Regions from separate parts of the Homo sapiens genome. Here region 2 is linked to region 1. The links are contacts of gene promoters, found by promoter capture Hi-C in human tissues and cell types (Jung and others, 2019). All regions are on one chromosome and are shown on one strand. The core of a region is centred on a gene start or on the middle of the fragment in contact, and the rest is flanking DNA. Distances in the headings are between cores, read along the strand shown.

Region 1 (4,290 bases), core at 881-3,380:
CGCTAACAGGATGAAATGGGTCTTGGAGAAGGCGGTGTTTGGGCTAGAACTTAAGGACCATAGGATTTCTGCTGGGGCTAAGTTTTGGGGAAGCATTATGAGCACAAAGGAGACAAACTAGTTTTCTACATTGCTGATCAGGTTAAAGGCTTAGAATCATGTCCGAAAAGTTGGTACAGATGTTGAAGATTATTGGTCCAGTTTCCCGTTTAATACAGGAATCCATTCTACTTGATGAAAGAAATCAGGAGTTAATGCAATGTGGCTACTGCAAGGAAACCATGGTCCCTGGTAAAGCACATTGCATTTAAAGACCTGCTTTCTATCTTGCTTTCACCTGTAAGCTTTATCATCAAGCTCCTCAACCTCTCTGAGAACTGGCTTCCTTGTCTATTCCAAGCTTGGCGCATACTATAACTAACATATGTGAAAATTCTCAGCAAGCGTTCTAAGCCCTGTTTATCAGCTCAGCACGGTGGCTTATGCCAGTAATCCCGGCACTTTGGGAGGCTGAGGTGGAGGATCCCTTCAGGCCAGGAGTTTAAGACCCACCGGGGCAACATAGCGAGGCTCTGTCTCTACAAAACATTTTAAAAATTAGCTGGTGTGGTGGTGCACACCTGTAGTCCCAGCTCCTCAGGAGGCTGAGGCAGAAGGATGGCTTGAGCCCGGGAGTTCCAGGCAGCAGTGAGCTATGGAGCACCACTGCACTCCAGCCTGGGTGACAGAGCAAGGCCCTGTCTCAAAAAACAAACAAACAAACAAAACTGTTTTACCTTTCTTTTTCTTTCTTTCTTTTTTTTTTTTTTTTTGAGGCAGAGTTTCACTCTGTCGCCAAGGCTGGAGTGCAGTGGTGCGATCTCAGCTCATTATAACCTCTGCCTCCCAGGGATTCAAGCGGTTCTTGTTCCTCAGCCTCCTGAGTGGCTGGGACTACAGGTGCATACCTGGCCAATTTTTGTATTTTTAGTAGAGATGGGATTTCACCATGTTGCCCAGGCTAGTCTTGAACTACTGACCTCAGGTGATCTGCCCGCCTCGGCCTCCCAAAGTGCTGGGATTACAGGTGTGAGCCACCATGCCTGGCCTGTTTTTCTTCTTACCATTCTGGCTAATTTCTACTTGTCTTTCAAGGCTCAGCAAGGACGAGTTGGGTAGAAAGCCTTGCAGGGTCGTCCACTTACTTTCACACTGCATTGAGTCGCCTGTTTGCAAGGTCATCTGCTCCCCAGAATGTGAACTCCCTCAGGGGTGCCTGATTGACTTCTGTAACTCCAGAGCCTGGCACAGCACACAAGATAAATAGTGGTGCGCTAGTTAAGAGCTCTGGCCTTGAAAATCAGATAATCAGGGGTTGAATCCTGGCCCTGCCACTTACTATGTGACTTTGGGCAAGATCCTTATCCTCTTCCCTGGGCCTCAGTTTCTTCAACTGCAAAGTGGGGATAATAATTACAATTACCTCATAGGCTGAAGTGAGGAGTTCAACACGGGCTCATGCACTTTTTTTTTTTTCTTTTGAGACAGAGTGTTGTTCTGTTGCCCAGGCTGGAGTGCAGTGGCGCAATCTCGGCTCACTGCAACCTCCACCTCCCGAGTTCAATTGATTCTCCTGCCTCAGCCTCCTGAGTAGCTGGGACCACAGGCGCGCACCACCACACCCAGCTAATTTTTGTATTTTTAGTAGAGACAGGGTTACACCATGTTGGCCAGGCTGGTCTCGAACTCCTGACCTCAAGTGATCCGCCTGCCTCAGCCTGCCAAAGTGCTGGGATTACAGGCGTGAGCCACCGCACCCGGCCTGGGGCTCATGAACTTAAAGATCATGGCCCAGTGCCAGGCACACGGGAATTCAGAATAGTAAGGGACAACTATTGTTAAGTTCTCTATGTCTGTTGCATAAGTAGATGAGGCTGTAGATAACTACACTCTTTGTCTAAAAGGGCCAAGTTCTCATCAGAACACTTTGCTGAGCCCCGGGTGACCGAATCCCTAGCTCTGGGGTGAGCGACATGCCTCCAAGGAGCTGCAGCCAGGAGACAGCCAGGCGAAGGCGGGGCTCTGCCTCTGGGCTCCCCGAGGGGCGGAGGCCGGCGCGCGGGTCACGTGGGGGCGCGGGAGGCGGGGCTTGCACACGCTGGTCACGCGGTCAGCTATTGACACTTCCTGGTGGGATCCGAGTGAGGCGACGGGGTAGGGGTTGGCGCTCAGGCGGCGACCATGGCGTATCACGGCCTCACTGTGCCTCTCATTGTGATGAGCGTGTTCTGGGGCTTCGTCGGCTTCTTGGTGCCTTGGTTCATCCCTAAGGGTCCTAACCGGGGGTAAGTGCGTGAGGCCCGCCTTGGGAGGAACGGGCGGTGAGGAGCTAGCAGGCCGGGGCGGGGAAAGGCACGACCCCCACACGGGTCAGAGAACGTTGCATGGGCGCCCCCCGCGCTGCAGAGTCAGGCCCCCGACCCGGCGGAACTCCTTGTGTTCCTTTTCGCAGCAGCTTCAGTGTCCTCCGGCCTGAGCGAGTGGAGGGTGACCTTTGGTGGACCCCCCTTGGAAACGAGTTTCAGGGGAATTTTTTCTCATCATAGTCCTGTGTGGGGAGGTGCAGTCGGAAATGAGCAGGCCGAATCTGGGAGAAACTGGGGTTTGTCCCTAGTCGACTGTCCCCCTTTAGCCCTGCCTTCCACCCACATGAGGCCTCGTTTGCCTGAACTTAAGGATCAAATAAATAAAACAGAAATTGGCTTCTCTGCCTCCCATGCTGTCGCGGTTGCGTACAGAACAAGCTCCTTCGACAACATTGAGCCCAGGCCTTGCATCTAGTGGGCGCCAGGAGGCGGTTGGGGCCTGATCTAAAGCGAGATTAATTACCAAAGAGCAGGAGGTATTGTTGAGAAACCCCTGCGTCATGCCTTTTGGAGGGCGCTCCGGCTCTTGTATGTGAGTGTAAGAAGTGCTTAGAATGATTGGCTAAGAAAGATTTTGTTTTTCCAGACTTCTTTGTTGGTTAGAGCTTTGTCTCTTTTGGAATTAAACTTTTTAACTGTAGTATAAAATAGAGGCTTAATCTTCAAAGGAGCCTTGGAACACCCTCTTCCTGGTTCCTCTTTTGCTTCTCAGTCATTTTTTTCTCAGTTCAAGATGATGAGAGGTGAAACTTCGACTGAAGTCAGTTTGTCAGAAACACCATCTCTTGCTTTATTCTTGAACCTAATTGGTGGCTTCATAGTGCCTGGTTTTCATAGTACCTTGTATGCACAGGAGGCACCCAATAAATACCTGTTGAGTGAATAGTTCTATTGTCTTTATTAAAAGAAAAAGATTTTTGGCCAGGTGCCGTGGCTCACGCCTGTAATCCCAGCACTTTGGGAGGCCAAGGCGGGCGGATCACGAGGTCAGGAGATCGAGACCATCCTGGCTAACACGGTGAAACCCGTCTCTACTAAAAACACAAAAAATTAGCCGGGCGTGGTGGCGGGCGCCTGTAATCCCAGCTACTCGGGAGGCTGAGGCAGGAGAATGGCGTGAACCCAGGAGGCAGAGCTTGCAGTGAGCCGAGATCGCGCCACTGCACTCCAGCCTGGGCGACAGAGCGAGACTCCGTCTCAAAAAAAAAAAAAAAAAAGAAAGAAAAAGATTTTTACTACTTCCCTAATATTTTGTGACCTGAACCCCTTTTGCTCCCTGGGATACATTTGCTTTATTAGTCTAAAATTATTTTTTTTTAAAAGATACATGGTAGATGAATTTTTATCATTTTTAAGTATCAAGTTCCTCCTCCCTGGTAACACCAGTTATATGGGGTCATCTCTCCTACCTATAGAGGTTGATGGACAGAGTCAGAATTCTGGCATTATTAAAGCAATTGTATTTACCAAAGTTAATTAGACTTGTTTTTCCTACTGGAGTTAGCGAACAACAAAGTGCTTCTTTGTTGTGTTTATATCTTCAACTGTTTCATTACCCTACTGTCTGCCTTTATGGCCTTTGTACTCAAAGAAGCATTTATTAATGTACTAATAGCACTGACAATTCCTTTCTTAAAGACCATTCTCTCCCCTTCCTTGGGATGTCATTGCCATTATCCAGGGTAATGAAACCCATCCTGTTTCCACTTAGCCCTAGAGAGTGTCATGATTCAGGTATTTGACCAGCTAGTGATATATAGACATGTGTCACTTAACAAAAGGACTATGTTTGAGAAATGTGTTAGTTGGGCTTTTGTGTGAACAAAGAGTTTACTTAAACAGATGGTACAGCCTACTACACACCTAGGCTATTTGGTAGAACCTG
Region 2 (4,114 bases), core at 60-2,559, 630 kb after region 1:
ACGTTTTTCCCTATCTTAAGGTCTAATTCTAAGCTCACAATCTTGCTGTGAGGTAAGCAAAATGTTTCCATGACAGGCTCTGGTAGGAGAAATCACTACCCTGCAGGAGTCCAGTGACAGGGTCTCCTAACCTACAACCACAGTCGTGGCTAGACAAGTTTTGAAAAGGAAGAAAATGAACATTCCAGCAACTACTGTATGTCTGATACTTAACACCCATTATTTCATTGAATCCAAACCACCCTGACGAGTAGGTAAAGTGAAATAGCGTTTTACTGGTGGGACTGACCAATGGCATTAGGATCTCAACTAGGCACCAAATCTCCTTTTATCAATGATGAAGTGCAAAATAAGGGTGCTGTTTCTACAATTTATCTTAATTCAACGCCGTACTAGTCTGCAAAACAATGAGCTAGAGAAAAGGAATAAACAGCTATAAAATGGTGATGACTGTGTGTTCAAATCATTGTGTTTAATGCCAGCTTCTCAGTGGTGAGTACGGAACAGGTGGAAATTCTAAAGCACGCTTGCTTATCTACTTGGTTTCGAAGTTTGTTATTAAGGGCCTCAGAGGAGTTCCATCTTGGGAATGATACGGTCTAGGCTCTAAAACCCACATTGAAACCCCAAGTTCGGAGAAGGGACTGGGTAAAATCACAACTAGTAGTAAATGTATCAGGCAGGAACCCACGTGTGCATCGCTCAGAAAGCTCTCCGTACTGCCCCAAGCGGTGTAAGACCTCACCGCTGAGATTTCTAAGCTATCTTTTGTTTTGCTCTCGGCTTTCGAAAATCAAAGCTGCCACCCGGCGGCCTCACGTGCAGCCCCGCTCCCCAACGCCCAGGCGGCCGCAGCTACCTTGGTGTCCACGTCGGCCAGGCAGTCCCGGCGGAAGCTGTCAAAAAGGCCCCGGCTCTTGAGCTGCTCCACGATGAGAGCGATGAGCTGCGGGTCGCCGGGAGGCAGCGAGGCCGGGTTGATGGGGCCACCGCCCCCGCTGGCCCCAGTAGCGCCAGTCGCTGCCCCGGCAGAGGCCTGGCTAGTTCCGCCGCCGCCCACCGCGCCAGTTCCCCCGCCGCCGCCGCCGTCCGCCATGGCTGCGCCCCGGGCCCACAAGGGAGAACGACTATAGCTTCTTCTCCAGGACAGAAGGCCTAGAACGTGTAGAGGTGGTGAAGGGGGCGGTGAAGGAGGAGGGCCCCAAGGCGGCAGCGGCGGAGGTGGCGATGGCGGCAGGGGCGGTGGTGGGGGCGGCGGCGGCGAAGGCCCCCTCTGATACAGCAGAGGTTGTGGTGGACGCGGCAGAAACGGCCTGCTCGATTCCAGGCGCACCCCAGATGGCGTCAACGTTGACCTTTGCATTGTGGGGCGGGAAGTTTTCTGTGGCCATCTCCGGCGTTCTTTATAGGCAGCGGCCTAGCCGAGAGAAACTACAACTCCCGGCAGGGTTCGTGCTTGCTCGTCGCGATTTCGCGGGGTAATATGGGAACTGTAGGCGCAGGCCTCGTGATCGCTGCAACCCGCCAGGCCTTCCCCGCCAGGCCTTCCCCGCCCACTCTCTGCTCACTTCCCATTCAATCAACACGTCCCAGCAGTGCCCGATTATAACAGTCATCTGTGGAGCTGATTAAAAGTATAGATTACCAGAATTATTTCTTAAAGATTTTTATCCAGTATTTACGGGTCGAGACCTAGCAATCTGTGCTTCAGCATGCACTCCCACGTCCTTCTTGAACAACATGTTCCGGGAAATTCCGGAAACAGTGGAACAGTCAAACTTCTATTGTTCAGAAATTTGTGAGTTTCCCTCCTTTTGGTTTTAATAGCAATGCATACTCATTTTAGAAAATTGGAAAATAACGGAAAAGTGTGAAGAAGAAAATAAAAGTTTTCCTTAAGTCTGTCTTATATGTGTGTGGATTTCCTCCCAAATATTAAATATTGTCAATCATAAGCCAATATTGAATAATTGAAAAGTGTCAGGCGTGATGCTATGCACTTTCCACGCACTTCTTCACGATAATTTAAAAAAGCAGATACATACTACTATTATTGCTATTTACAGACGTAGAAATGGAGGCAGAAGAAAGTTTGTTAACCTAATCACATACCTAGAGGTAGAAAAGTAGGATTTGAACCCAGGTTTTGAGGATCTAAATCTTGCATTTTAGCCTGAGGTATCCTGAGAGCTAGTTGGTATCCCACAATAGGTAAGGCTTTATATCCTGATTTTTTTAAGTAGCCACAATTCACCATTGGAATCCTATAGCTGCCACCATTATCCTCTCTTCCCTTCATCTTTTGCCTATTGTTAGCTCAGCTCCCCCTCCCAACCTCAGCAATTATGTCTGCTATTGTTGTTTCCTCATCTTACACAAGCAGCAGAGGGGATGTAAATAGCAAATTCTGCAATATCCTTGGCTCCTGCGAAGATGCAGAATTGGCAAAGATCCAGGATGTTCTCCACACCAATATTTAGTACTCAAGACAGTTTAATTTTTTTTTCTTTTTTTTTTTTGAGACAGAGTCTCACTCTATCGCCCAGGCTGGAGTGCAGTGGTGCAATCTTGGCTCACTGCAGCCTCCACCTCCTGGGTTCAAGCAATTCTCCTGCCTCAGCCTCCCGAGTAGCTGGGATTACAGGCGCATGCCACCATACCTGGCTAATTTTAGTATTTTTAGTAGAGATGGGGGTTTCACCATGTTGGCCAGGCTGGTCTTGAATTCCTGACCTCAAGTGATCTACCCGCCTCAGCCTCCCAAAGTGCTGGGATTACAGGTGTGAGCCACCACACCTGTCCAAGAGAGTTTAAATTAACCCTCAAAAGAAACATTCAGGTGTTGGATTATACTCATCCTCTAACACCAGCTCAATCATTCACAATGGGTCAGTTAATGACAAACATTCTCTCTTAATAGCTCACCATCCTTGAGATTACCTAATGTCTGTTCCTACTGGTTGACTCTACACTGATCACTCACCTTTAACCCCAGGAGAAGCCCAGTTCAGGCTGCCTCAGCCCCAGGTTCTTTCTTCTGCAAGCCCTTGATCACTCTGACTAGTCCCTTCTCCATTTTTGGCACCCCACATCTTACTCTCCTTCCTCAGGGAAAATTCTTCTGACCCCTAGATCCAATGAGATATTTCCTCCATGCTACAGAAACTCAAAGCCTCATTTTTTGTAGCAATTATTATAATTGGAAGTGAATGATTTACAGACAAATTGGCCACCTGAGTCCCCTGATAGGGTGTAATATTTAGAATGGGGACCACGACTTGTTCATCACTGTGTCTCCAGCTCTTAGCACGATAGTTCTTAGCTCAAAGAGAATGTATAAATTCCTGTCTGTTTCCTAAAGCTGTGGGATAGCATCACAGAGTGCGTGGGTAGGATTATGTGTAGCCATAATCTTCAGAAAAGAAGGAGCATTCTAGCAGGAGATGATGGATGAATCTGTCATGACTTAAATAGGTAAGTGATCCTGGAGATTGTCTGCACTTGGTTCACACTGTGACAATTTCACTATCTGTCATGGGGACCTGTGTCTTGGTTGCTGGGTCTCTGAACATTGACAAAAGGCTGCATTCTGTATCCATGACCTTCCCTCTGCAATCAAAGTAAATGATGAGGGATAAAAGGGGAAGGGGATGAGGAGTGAAGATGATCAAGCTGAAGGGAGGCTTATTATTTATCCAAACCGTGGAATAGGAGGCCTCCACAACATCCAAAATGTATTCTTCCCTTCAAGAGACATGTAATACACACCAGCAGTCATCAGAGAGCGCCATTGCTGTATTAATAATCCAAAACATTCGGAAATGGCTGTGCGGAACATTGTTTTAACTTTGGCTTAGGTAGTAATCTGGTTTTCAGGTATCCTTCACGTAGCAAATTGTTGTTGCTTCTCAGTATTAAAACTTGTCTGTAATAAGTTGCCCGACCCCAAAGAATTACGCATTTTAGGTGCTGGAATATTTTTTGTTGAAGGCCACATGAAAAAGTAGAACTTCCCCAAGCCCAAATCTAGACCTCACTGAAACTGGAAAAGAAATGAGATCTATCATTTGCCAAGGGAGATATAAGAAAGTAGTCACATGTATGGACTTTTTGC

What was found. Contacts are between HindIII fragments. The study calls those that stand out against the background at their distance.
Region 2: the fragment with the promoter of BOD1 here is called in contact with the fragment with the promoter of ATP6V0E1 in region 1 in 1 of the 25 tissues and cell types used here (IMR-90 fibroblasts).

Annotation. Positions count from the first base shown.
Region 1 is chr5:172,981,641-172,985,930 of GRCh38, forward strand. ATP6V0E1 (ATPase H+ transporting V0 subunit e1) reads left to right here and starts at 2,131. Exons shown (of 4, transcript NM_003945.4): 1 at 2,131-2,324. The coding sequence starts at 2,221. RefSeq lists an enhancer at 1,946-2,240 and a silencer at 2,006-2,185. The HindIII fragment of the contact is 13,025 bases long and covers 1-4,290 here.
Region 2 is chr5:173,615,341-173,619,454 of GRCh38, forward strand. BOD1 (biorientation of chromosomes in cell division 1) reads right to left here and starts at 1,310. Exons shown (of 4, transcript NM_138369.3): 1 at 860-1,310. The coding sequence starts at 1,096. RefSeq lists silencers at 1,117-1,166, 1,177-1,246 and enhancers at 1,227-1,486, 1,507-1,586. The HindIII fragment of the contact is 11,068 bases long and covers 1-4,114 here.